Regions from separate parts of the Homo sapiens genome. Here region 2 is linked to region 1. The links are contacts of gene promoters, found by promoter capture Hi-C in blood cells and fetal thymus (Javierre and others, 2016). All regions are on one chromosome and are shown on one strand. The core of a region is centred on a gene start or on the middle of the fragment in contact, and the rest is flanking DNA. Distances in the headings are between cores, read along the strand shown. Region 1 holds the start of MRO (maestro). Region 2 overlaps ME2 (malic enzyme 2).

Region 1 (6,676 bases), core at 1,540-4,039:
TGAGAAGCTGCTAAACCCAACCTGTGGCTAAGGAGGTGGCTGATTTTACTTCTTTTTAGAAGTGAAAATCAAGACAGAGTTTAGCTTAGCTGGGGGGCGGGGGGCGGGGGGCGGGGGATGTATTTCCTGAAAGAAGATGAGAGGGAGGAAACTTAAATCTCTCTCTTTAAGATAAATTTCCTGGCAGGGCCCAGTGGCTCATGCCTGTAATCCCAGAGGCAGGCAGATCACCTGAGGTCAGGAGTTGGAGACCAGCCTGGCCAACATGGTGAAACCCCGTCTTTATCAAAAATACAAAAATTAGCCGGGTGTGGTGGCAGGCGCCTGTAGTCCCGCTACTCGGTAGGCTGAGGCGTAAGATTCGCTTGAACCTGGGAGGCGGAGGTTGCAGTGAGCCAAGTTCCCCCCACTGCACTCCAGCCTGGCTGACAGAGTGAGACCCTGTCTCAAAAATAAAATAAAATAAACTAAAAAAGATAAATTTCCTGATTACACATTGTAATACACATGTAATTCACATACAAGGTGAATTGTGGATTGCTTTAGCTTTGCCTGTTGCCCTTTTCATCAGTAATGCAGGCTAAATAATTACCCTCTTTGCTTTTTCCAGTTGTGCCAGCCCCAGTGTACTTCTGGCAATAAGGAAATGTTAATTGAGAATGAAAATAGAGTCATTAAATCCTTACATTAAATAATTATGGTGTGTTCTTTTAAGGACATCATGTTATAGATATGCAAATATGTTGCAATCAAATTATCAAACTTGCCCTCTAATTTCCAAAGAACTGTACTGTGACCCAGGGCCACATAAGGAGAATCTTAGACTCTTGTGGGCATCATGCGTTGATTTTGATGCTTCCCAAGTTTGTGCTGTGTCTGGGATTCTCTAGGGGCAGTTAGCTGCATCCAGGCCGTTTATGAGAAGTGTTTAGTAGAGCTGAGGTCAGCACAGTGCAAGTATCAGAAAGGCTCCTGGATATCAATTCCAGTTCTGGCCCTGATGTTCTTTGTAGTTTTAAGTCAAACAGGAAAATTTATCTGCATATTAGTTCTCCTATTTAACAGTAGAGAAGATACTATTTCTCTGTCAAATATCTTAAAACATGAATACAAAGAAACTTTAGACACAAGGGGTTATTAATAGTTTGTTGTGTTTCTGTTCATGGGGAGGAGGGGATGTAAATTTCAGTTCTGATTCACAAAGGAGATTTTGCAGAGAATCTTTACAATCATACTTTGGGCTTCCTTTCTCCAGTCTCCTCTGTTCTTCGGATAATCTTATTACCTTTTTGGTCATTCTAAGCACTACATGGATTAGTTCAGTATATAGATTATGGCCGTATAAACCTCATTCTCGCTCTTGGCAGATAACCTAACTCTGGTTTTACTGAAAAGATTAAAGCTAATTTGGAAGAATTGAACTCGCCCATTCCTCTCAGTTTTGTGTTGATGTATCTTCATCTCTGTGGCTGCCTCCCAGTTGCAGGCAGAGGCAGCCATCTTTCTTCCTCCTCCAGAGCTAACCCTTTCCCTCGTGCCCTTGATGCCCCCTCCACCTCTTCCTATTACCACTACTTGGCACCAGCCACATATTAGGGCTCCCTTGCAACCACTTTCAAACAAGGCCAGGCTTTATTCCATTTCAAAAAGCACACAAGAAAACCAAAATGCTTTTGCCTGACCTTGCTGTCTCTTCTAGTCTATTTATTGCTTTCCTTTTGCAGCAAGACATCTCAATTTCCTCTTTCCTCATAGCCCCTTAGTTTTGCAGTCTAGCTTCCTTTCTCTGTCACTCTATTGAAATTGTGTCCTCAAATGTCACAGTGGTTCCCTTGTAACTTAATCTGAAGAGGGTGGTGTTTTAGCCTCATTCTTCTTATTTTCTCAGCAGCATCGATTTTCTTTCTGCCTTTTTCTTTCATCTTCCACTCTGACATAGTTCTCTGGTTTATATTTTTCTGTTTATCTCCTGGGTTTTCTAGACCAGTCCAGTGCATAGCATCATGGCTGAGTCCAAGCTCTTACATTAGCCTGCCTGTAGCTGAATTTTAACTGCCACAAATTAACTGCATGACCTTTGTCAAGGTAATCTCCCTGTGCCTCAGTTTCTCCAGCCTTAAAATGGAGACTATAGTAGGAGTATTAACCTTTGGTTTGATGTAACAATTGAATGAGATAGTCTATGTAATATTTATCACAACATTTGGCACACAGAAGTTTTAATTGAATGTTATCTATTAGCATAACAATAAGTGCCTCTGTCTTTGAAAATATAACTGTTCTTTTTTCCTTTCAGGACATATTTTCTCCCTTTATGACCCAATGCAGAGCGAGACGATAACTAATTATTGTTAAATAGATTTATGCACGTGTTTGGAGAGTCAGGGAAGGAGGGCTGATGAGAGAGAGAGGCTCCTAAATTCTGCAGGTGCTGTAATTCCCCGGTTTTAATTTTGCTTTGCTTTTTACCAATAAATCATTTTGAGAGCTTAAATCGCTCCTTTCGGGACATACGGTGTTTCTTGAGCAGGAAGGGACGTCAACGGTTAAAGCTCTTGTTGTTGGTGCAACAATCAGCCACGATGAGGCTGCTTGGCATGGAACACAGTGTCCCATCCTTAGATTAAATGCGCTCTAACAGGATTATGTAAGGAAGGAGGCAGCCACGGCGGCGGCTTTGTGCAGGGGTCGCCTGGAACCCGTCCATTGAGTCATGCCGCCATCTCGCGGCCGCATGGGGAACGGGCCTTGGCAGGGAGGTTTTGTTTGGTGCAGAGGAAAGGTCCCCAGAATTGCCATCTGCAGAATTTCTGCAGAAAGTGTCGACCAGGCTGGCATGAGGGAAGAAGGAGGGGAAATCACAGCAAGGAGAAGGAAAAACACCTCAGCATGGCGTGGGGAAGCAAAGGTAGCAAGTCATGCTTGTGCCACCCTACAATATTCTTGTCGGTTTCATTCCAGAACAATTCCCTCCCCTGCCCAAATACTCTATAAACTTTGACTTTCCCCTCTTATTTGATTCTCACTTTCCAACACTCTGTGCCGACCCGTTATCCTGGACAGACCCTGCGTCACCTCCTAATTTCCCTTCTTGTATGTTAGGAATTCAGGGCTGGGAAAATTTAGCCGAGTCATCACATTTGGCTACTACCCGGGAAAGCAGCCCTCCCGAGTCAGGAACGGGCTCCGGTTCATCACGTGGCAGCCGCCTGCAGGAGCCGCAGGTAAGGGACACTGTTGGCCGGGGCAGCCAGATGCAGCGGGAGGCGTCCTGGCTGCACTTGGGTTCCCAAAACCTTTCTGGAATGTCACTCTGGTCACCAGTATGGGAGCTCGACCTCTAGGGGGTAGGATTTGGTAATGTTCTCTTTGTAAAACTGAAGTGGGCAATGTTGACCAGGAAGCTGATTTTGTTTGCTTTTCACAAACTATGTTAATCGATCAATAGTTGGGTTATAGATCATTCTATTGTCAGCAATATAATAGAATGGCAGGGACTCAGGGAAGATATTGACACTTTAAACTGAAATGTCTATGCGGTCTGTCTTCCCTCGTTCAGCTCACAGGACATTGCCTGGGAGCTGAACCTAGGCTTATAGCACAGTGACTGAAAGGATATCTTTCAGAGTCCTAAAATCTGCTCTGCCAGTATTTGACTTTGAGTTAATTGTTCAACATTACTTTAAGCCCAGTTTCTTCTTTTCTAAAATGAAGACGATTTTTTTAATATTAATTTTTTTTTTCATTTTTTTGAGACAGGGTCTTGTTGTGTTGCCCAAGCTGGGGTGCGGTGGCCCGATCTCGGCTCACTGCAACCTCTGTCTCCTGGGTTCAAGTGATTCTTCTGCCTCAGCCTCCTGAGTAGCTGGGACTACAGGTGTGCACCACCATGTCTGGCTAATTTTTGTATTTTTAGTAGAGGCGGGGTTTCACCATGTTGCTCAGGCTGGTCTTGATCTCCTGACCTCAAGCAATCTGCCTGCCTCAGCCTCCCAAAATGCTGGGATTTATAGGCATGAGCCACCACACGCAGCCTACTATTGTCATTTATAAGTTCAGTGTTGGAAGGATTTTTAAGCAATCTAACAGTTTCTTCTGCTCATTTTACAGATGAGATAAAATCAAAGTGTTTTATAATTTTGGCCTTCATAATATACCTTTTGGCTTCAATAAATAAAAGGATTATTGACCAAAAATCTAATATTTTGAGTCAGAATCATTCAAGTTTGCAAAAGCAGATGGGAGTCAGTGTAAAGCATAAAACAGTCTTCTAAGTTACCCCAAATCCATGTATCTTCAGTAAGATCAGGTAGAGCACAACCTGGCAATGAACACAAGCCCCAGCCGGGGTCTTGGGGTTCGTGAAAACCAAGGGGTCTGCACATAGCTCACTCAGGGGTATGTTCCAGAGGAAGAAGAATTCGTTGAAGAACGTGTGCAGAGATGAGTAAAACTATAAGCAGAGCTGTGTCTTTGGCTTCCAAATGGCCAGGTGACCTCCTGGTCTTGGTCATACAAGGCTAGGCATATGTGGTGACCATAGAAACCCACCAGAAAATGTAATTCTCCTAGGAAAGAATGCCTGTCTTACGGGTGAGAGGGCTTGGAGAAGGAGTTAGAACATCCTAAGAAATCTTGGAATCTGTATACTACGTTCATTCACAGTGTGTTTAAAACGATCCTCTCTGAGATCCTGTGTTGCAACAGATGAGAATGATCCTTTTGTTTTTGTTGGATTGGGTGTAAAGGACTTCATGTTTTAGAAAGGAGGGAGGCACTGCAGGCAGGAAGGAGGGCATGGGGCGGGGGGTGGGAGTTCTTTAAGAAGCTGCAAGTACAAGAAACACAAGGCTCCAGCGAGGGGCCTTGTGACCTTGATTTAACTCCTAATTTGTTTTATTTTTTAATGAAACTTTTAACTGAAGAATAGCATCCTAGAAAAGTTGCATAAATCATAGACAAACAGCTGCTGTGATTTTAATTTTATTTTTAAAGTGAAATTCAAAGTGCTTCACAAACATATGGTATCAATCTCTTGTTCTCTGCAAAGACACTGACCTCTTTCTCTTTCTCATCCCTCGGCCCCAGCTCCCTCCCTGACTTCCATGGTTTCTGCTACTGCATGGGCTCGGATTAGCTTTATTTAATTTCCAGGATAGAGGTTCTTCTATACCAACAGGCGTGTAGCATCACCAGGCACCACATACAAAAAGTGCAATGCTCAGGCCCGACACTCCCTGAGATTCAGATCCAATAATTCTGGGGCAGGCCTGGAGTTTATTGTTATTATTATTATTTATTTTTATTTTTTAGAGACAGGATCTTGCTCTGTCAACCCAGCTGGAGTGCAGTGGCGCAATCATGGCTTACGGCAGCCTCAGACTCCTGGGCTCAAGGGATGCTCAGCCTCCCAAAGTGCTGGGATTACAGGTGTGAGCCACTGCACCCACCTCTGGCTTGGAGTTTGTAACACGTACCCCGGGGAATTCTGATATAGAAGGTGCAACCAACACTGAGAAATGCTCTACTTTTCCTGCACCCAAGATTGAGATGATCCCTGACAACCTGTAAGATTAAACCACATCACAGTTTTTCTCTTGTGATGGGGAGGTAGGGTTTGCTAGAAGAGGTAGTGAGCTCAAGATGTAACTCTGTGAGTTTCTCTAATCACAGATCGAATCTTCCAGGTGGAGCCACTCAGTTCTCATTTACTTTGCCGTGCATGGGAGCATGACCTTGAGTTCTACTTACGCCTATGAAGGCGATGCTGGCTGCTTGGTTTCTGAAGCCTGGGGAAGTTGCCTTGGCTGGCTAAAGCCCTTAGCTGTTATGCTAATCTTGCAAGAGAAGTCAAGCAGAAAGAACAGGGTAGCAGGTTTGTTTTCTTTACCAATGGAAAGGAGCTTCAGGCATGATTTTCTTATGCCTTGGAACAGAGATACCAGCTGTTTTATAATGAGGCCCACACCCTCCTTGGTGAGTGGGCCCTCAGCTTGAGGGAGTTTTGCTTCTTTTATTTTGATTTTGAAATTTGAGATTTTTTCATTTGAAGGTAATCTTAATGCTATTAAATTCATAAATATGCTAATTTAAATACCCAATCCTATTTATTTAAAATAGACGTTGCAAGCGTACAAATATTCTCTCCACATGTCAGCACCCATTTAGATCATGGTTTGGAAATGGGGAGAATAGAATTCCCTTAAACTGCAAGTCAGCTGGTGTTTCTTTACAGCTAACGTTAGCAAAATTTATGCAAAGCAGTAATTCACAATGATCTTCTTTATTTGTTAACCCACAAGGAAACACCCTCAAAACTATTCTGTTAAAGTGTCTGTTCAGAAATGTGGAAAAACTGAACTATATAAATATTGAAAAGTTAAAAATTCCTTAATTTTTTATTCTTGGAACCACTACCACAATTTACAGGGCAATATACCTGATGTAATGAAAAGAAAAAGAAAAAGAAAAAGCTATAGCAGATAAAAGACCATAGGGATGTTCATCTAGCCAATGCTACATTGCATTATCAATAGCTGCACTTTTTGCAAACTGTGGCTATGACAGTCCTGAACAAGAAAGGTTTTCTGTTTAAGCTGCAGTAACTTTTCTAACTATGTATCATCGTTTCTTCCGTGGCAGATTTTTAGTTCCTAATGCATTTGGGACAACTGTT
Region 2 (6,676 bases), core at 3,214-5,713, 79 kb before region 1:
TATTGACACAAATCTCTTAAACAGACACTTGAACATTCAGGTAAACATGCTAGGGGGCCAGTAAAGGTGCAAAGCTGGGAGTCTCATCAGCCACTGGAATTCCAAATCCAAAGGCTACTACACTATTATGCACCCATATATTTATTATACAGCTTATCAAACATTTTAGAGATATATTTATAGTATACTTTTCCCAGTGGTAAAATTGCATATAAAAGTATATGTTATAATCTTAAAAGTAAGTATACTTTTAAGAGAATCATGGCCAAATAAAAATAGATGATAGAGGCCAGGCACAGTGGCTCACGCCTGTAATCCCAGCACTTTGGGAGGCTGAGGCGAGTGGATCACCTGAGGTCAGGAGTTCGAGATCAGCCTGGACAACACGCTGAAACCCCGTCTCTACCAAAAATACAAAATTAGCCAGGCGTGGTGGCACATGCCTGTAATCCCAGCTACTTGGGATGCTGAGGCAGGAGAATCGCTTGAACCTGGGAGCGGAGGATGTGGTGAGCCAAAATCGCACTATTGCACTCCAGCCTGGGCAACAAGAGTAAATCTCTGTCTCACCAAAAAAGGTGATAGAATAATAGCAATGTGATTTTTAAATCTTTTATTAGTCATATTATTTGTGTAAATAACCAGAAGAAAATTCTAAATTTATTAAAGAACTAGCCGGGAGAAGTTAAAATATAAACAAATAAATTAACAAAACCCTCAGAGAACTAATAACCAGAAAACCAGAGTTCCAGATACAAAGCTTGAGCATGTCCTTAAATCTTAGGGATGGAATCTACAAAATAAAGGAGTTATTGATTCTCTTCTTTAACACTCCTTCTCGAATTAAGTTAATGGTTTGCATAGGTATTTACTATGTACTTAGCTCTTTTAGTTCTGGCAATCTATGGTTCATTATTCTAAATAGAGTCCATTAGGATATTTGAATTTGGCTGAAATAAATTAAGAATCTGTAGTAAAATCTCTTCACAATCTTACATCTTGAAAAGAATACTTGGTTTAAAAGAGATGTTTAGTAGTATTACGGGAGGAACTAGAAAAAGAAAAAAACGTAGATAGCAGGAGTTACTTGAGAATTACTAGGTTATATCAATAGTGTTCAGGTGTTTTTTTAAAAAAATTTCAGAAGGACTCCTATACCTTTAGCCCACTGGGTCATCAATAAAAATGTTGGCATCTCTCTTGCTAAGGCAGCCAACACAGAGGCAGGAAGAACAAAAGTGAAAAACAAAATTGAGGGTCGGAGGCTATGTACATAGTTTAGAGTTGGCTCACCTTGTAATCAAACAATTGTACACTTTTACTGTTGTAATCATAATAGACCTCAGCCTGAATCCTTCCCAAATTTCTTGTTTGAGCACTCTACCCTATGGAAGCATTATTACAGTGTAAAAGAAAGTATCACTTATATCTACCTCTAAAAGCTTTAAATCCACACTAAAAATGAATAGCCAATTCATTTGTTATATATTTTCTCATCTCTCTGATTCAACCAAATATTTATTTTCTGGTACTCATTTCATACTTTAAAGCACATTTTATCTGTATCTTTAAGCCTTGTACAATCTAATATAAGACATATCCTGAGAGTAACAGAAATAATCTAAGACTAAAACAACTCTTTAATACAAATCAGACTCTTTAATACTGATTTACGTTTGTAATGAGAAATGTAAGATAGAAGGCAAACGATTCAGGAGATAGAATCCATTTACACACATTTATAAGCAGGAGATAAAATGCATTCCCTTAACCTCAATACGGATAGGCGCTATGTAGCCAGTGCCTCACTAGCACTCAAATGCTTGTTTAGACTTCTGAAAATGTGTTAATTGAGATGAAATTGCACTAAAAGGGCAAATTATAACTAAGTGGCAAGCTCTGTTCATCACAAATCCACAATTATTCACATCACATGTTCTATGGCTTATGTTGTTTTGGTACAGAAATTAGGTGTTAATACATAAATTTGAAATAAAATATACTCATTGTATTAGCCCATTCTCATGCTGCTATGACGAAATACCAAGACTGAGTAATTTATAAGAAAAGAGGTTTAACTGACTCACAGTTCCACATGGCTGGGGAGACCTCAGGAAACTTACAATTATGGTAGAAGGCCCCTCTACCCAGGGTGGCAGGAGAGAGAATGAGTGCTGAGCGAAGGGGGAAGTCCCTTATAAAGCCACCAGATCTTGTGAGAACTCACTCACTATCACAAGAACAGCATGGGGGAAACCACCCCCACGATTCAGTTACCTCCACCTGGTCCTACCTTTGACACGTGGTAATTATTAAAATTCAAGATGAGATTTGGGTGGTGATGCAGAGCCAAATCATATCACTCAACTGAAAACTTTTTAATGTAATTTAAAATTGTTCTTGGCTGGGCGTAGTGGCTCACGCCTGTAATCCCAGCACTTTGGGAGGCTGAGGTGGGCAGATCACGAGGTCAGCAGATCGCGACCACAGTGAAACACCATCTCTACTAAAAATACAAAAAATTAGCTGAGCATGGTGGCAGGCGCCTGTACTCCCAGCTACTAGGGAGGCTGAGGCAGGAGCATGGCATGAACCCAGAAGGCAGAGCTTGCAGTGAGCCGAGATCACGCCACTGCACTCCAGCCTGGGCAACAGAGCGAGACTCCATCTCAATAAATAAATAAATAAATAAATAAATAAATAAATAAATAAAATTATTCTTACTTTTTTCCTTCTTCCTCCCCCTATTCTTATTTAAAAAAAAAAACTGCATCACTCAATTTTTAAGACTTTGTAAGATGAAATGGGCTTTGTAATGCAAGCCATGAGGAGTGGCTGTAAATACAGATGAAGCTTCACTTGCTCAAAAAATGATAAGAAAACACATAAATCAGTACATGGGGAAAAGAGGTGTGAATAGGGGTATTTCCTAACTTGTTTTACAAGAGTAGGTAACAAAACTCCTATCTAATCCAAACTTATTTTCTGGAAACAAAACCTATGTTTAATTATCTGTGAAACTCCGAGCACCAATCATGTCAGATTTTGTTTTCCTATTTGCTCATCTGTTTATGCATTCATCCATCTACCCAGCATGTACTGAGGCTCTGTGTGTGCTAAGTACTGTGGGGTAAGATAATGAGGATACAGACTAAGATATGGTCATTGTCCTCAATGGAGGAATGAGATAATTCCAACTGAGTATGATACATGGTATTGACAGAAGTGAGCACAAGAATGCTCAAAGGACAGGGGAGTAACTCACCCAGTGTGGTGAGGAATTAGGAAAAAGGGTCACTGAAAACTTCCTAGAGCAGTGGTCCCCATCCTCTTTGGCACCAGTGACCAGTTTCATGGAAGACAATTTTTTTTGAGACAGGGGCTCACTCTGCCACCCAAGCTGCAGTGCAGTGGCACGATCTCACTGCAACCTCCACCTCCTGGGCTCAAGTGATCCTCCCACCTCAGCCTCCTGAGTAGCTGAAACTATAGGCATGCACCACAGTGCTTGGCTAATTTTTTTATATTTTTGGTAGAGACGAGTTCAGGCTGGTAGAGACCAGGCCAGGCTGGTCTCAAACTCTTGACCCCAAGCAATCCACCTCAGCCTCCCAAAGTGCTGGGACTACAGGTGTGAGCCACCACAGCCAGCTGAAGACAATTTTTCTTTTCATGTCTTAGTTGTTATTGAAGTCATTGATGATAGTTACATTTTCATGAGTTTTTATCTTGTTGACTCTATTTCAGGGGGTAGGGAATGGTTTCAGGATGAAACTGTGCCACCTCAGATCATCAGGCATTAGATTCTCATAATTAGTGTGCAACCTAGATCCCTTGCATGCGCAGTTCACAATAGGGTTTGCACTCCTCTGACAGGAGGCAGAGCACAGGCGGTAATGCAAGCCATGAGGAGTGGCTGTAAATACAGATGAAGATTCACTTGCTCAACCACTGCTCACCTTCTGCTGTGTGGGAAAGGATGCAGAGCTGAATTTCAGAAAATTATGAGAAAAGTTAGCCAAATGAGCATGGGGAGAAAAGGAGAAATCCAATTTTATACTTGTATAGCCCTTTAAATGTTTCCAAATGCTATTACCTATATTATTTACATGAAGAAAACTAAGGCCTAGAGAAGTTGAAGGGTTTGCCAAAGTTTCATGGCTAGTAAATGGTAAAGCCCAAATTAGCACCTAAACTCCTGCTTATAACCTAGCATAATGGTGTCCCACCTTTTAAAGTGTAAGAAATTTTGGCCAGGTGTGGTGGCTCATGCCTGTAATCCCAACAGTTTAGGAGGCCAAGGCAGGCGGATCACCTGAGCCCAGGAGTTCAAAACCAGCATAGACAACATGGCAAGACCTCATCTCTACAAAAAAATACAAAAAGTAGCCAGGTGTAGTGGCACGTGCCTGTAGTCTCAGCTACTCGGGAAGGTGAGATGGGAAAATCACCTGAGCCCGGGGAGGTCAAGGCTGCAGTAAGCCATGATAGTGTCATTGCACTCCAGCCTGGGCAACAGAGTGAGAACCTGTCTCAAAAAAATAAAATAAAATGAAATAATACTAGGTTTCTACTTGGGATAATAAAAAAGTTCTGGAACTAGATAGTGGTGATGGTTGCACAACACTAAATAAATTTAATGTCACTGAATTGTATACTTTTAAATAGTTAAAATTGTCAATTTTATATTATGCTTCCTTTACCACAATAAAAAAGTTTTATAAACAAAGAGCAGGTATACCTTGAGTATACAGTGATTACAGACATACATTTAAGAAGATTCAGAATTCAATACTGCCTTTAATTACTATTTTATTAATTACAGCAGCAACATATCCTTAAAGATAATATTTACAAAAATGTGAAAAGTTATTAAGTATACAATATTTGAAGCACAAATGAGATTTCTTTACATGGTAAGTTCCTGAGGAGTCTATAACCCATGAATTGGGAATCACTGGTCTATGTTCTTTAAACAAAAATAAACTCTTCCTGATGTTTAAGGGGTTTCCAGAAGTGGTCCTTCAATGATGTGACCATATAGATGCTATTCAATCTTAGGGATTTCAGAAGGCCAGAATGTTAGACATTCTTTTTTTTCTTTTTCTTTTTCTTTTTTTTTTTGAGATGGAGTTTCGCTCTTCTTGCCCAGGATGGCATGCAATGGCACGATCTCGGCTCACCGCACTCTCCACTTCCGGGTTCAAACGATTCTCCTGCCTCAGCCTCCCAAGTAGCTGGGTTTATAGGCATGCTCCACCACACTCAGCTAATTATGTATTTTTAGTAGAGATGGGGTTTCTCCGTGTTGGTCAGGCTGGTCTCGAACTCCCAACCTCAGGTGATCCGCCCACCTCAGCCTCCCAAAGTGCTGGGATTACAGGCATAAGCCACCATGTCCGGCCTAATTTTGTATTTTTAGTAGAGACGAAGTTTCTCCATGTTGGTCAGGCTGGTCTTGAACTCCTGACCTCAGGTGATCCGCCTGCCTCAGCCTCCCAAGGTGCTGGGATTACAGGAGTGAGCCACTGTGCCTGGCCGACATTATTTTCTTTAGGGAAGTATGGTAATGCACTTAGACTATGCTCCATCTGCAAACTTGTTTGACACTCAATGTACTTTATAAATTTCTTATAATCTCTAAGTCCCCAGAGTAGGTTTTAAATAAATTATTTCCATAAGTATAAAATATAAAACCAATATATTTATCAAATGCGCCCATAGCACTGTAAAAGATACACAGAAGTATTTGAATGGTCCCTGCCCAAAAGGAACCCGAAATATAGTCAAGAAGATATAAACTCAGGAAAATGTAACTACCATCAATGACTTCAATAACAGCTTAAACCATGAAAAGAAGCACAAAGCAACACCTATTGATTACTTGCCACAGGAACAGGAAGAAACTGCTATGGGGTTTCAGAGAAGGGAGTAATTACTCCAGTCCATGGTGGTGTAAAAAGGTTCTACAGGAGAACTGGATTTGAAATGAGGTGCATCTTAAAGAGCAAATGAGATTTGGAGAGGTCAGGCACAAACAAGAGAAGATCAGAATATCCTTCATTAAGCTTCATTTAACACACTAACTGCTTGCTGAACTCATTCTGTGTCATGTACCAAGAATACAAAGGTGAGGTGCTCTGTGTGACCCATGGTCAAATTCCCCTTTGTAGGCCTGAAACCCCTCAAAACTTATCATAGGATAACAATTAACAATTAACTATTTTCCCTGATAGTGGGAAACAAACGGGACTGGCAAGTTTTTTATGACTGTTCTTTTAAAATAAGTCACACTTTTCATTTGAATTTACCTTTCCCCAAAAGGTAAATTTCATATATTGCAATAAACTCAATGTATCCTCTTGCAATCTTCTTGTAAAAAAAATCTCTTCCCAGAACTTTTACTTACTATTTAATATTGCCACTAAAAAACAGGCAGGCACTTGTCCACCGAACCAAACATAGATGAAGGATGAAGTAATGACTGGATCTCAATATTGCACGTCACTTTTGTCACAAGAGTACAATAAAGAGCCAGGAGTCTCTCTATTTTGAAGCAGTCATCTAATCATTCTAATTAATGGGCACAATTTTTTGTGTGCAATGGTTTGTGTCCAAAAAGATAAGTGGAGGTGGGGTGATGTGGACTTTACATAAAGGTTCATTTCACAATTTT

What was found. The method cuts DNA at HindIII sites, captures the fragments that hold promoters and counts their contacts. A CHiCAGO score of 5 or more calls a contact.
Region 2: a contact is called between a fragment that was not itself captured here and the fragment with the promoter of MRO in region 1, in 2 of 17 cell types (neutrophils and monocytes). The highest score is 6.7, in neutrophils.

What each region holds. Positions count from the first base shown.
Region 1 is chr18:50,816,129-50,822,804 of GRCh38, reverse strand. MRO (maestro) reads left to right here and starts at 2,789. Exons shown (of 8, transcript NM_031939.6): 1 at 2,789-2,908; 2 at 3,103-3,224. RefSeq lists enhancers at 2,585-2,634, 2,471-3,104. The HindIII fragment of the contact is 17,012 bases long and covers 1-6,676 here.
Region 2 is chr18:50,896,308-50,902,983 of GRCh38, reverse strand. All of the region lies in intron 2 of ME2 (malic enzyme 2), which reads right to left. Among named protein-coding and RNA genes, the nearest start is that of ME2, 21 kb to the right of the region's middle. RefSeq lists silencers at 2,146-2,195, 3,038-3,238. The HindIII fragment of the contact is 3,215 bases long and covers 2,856-6,070 here.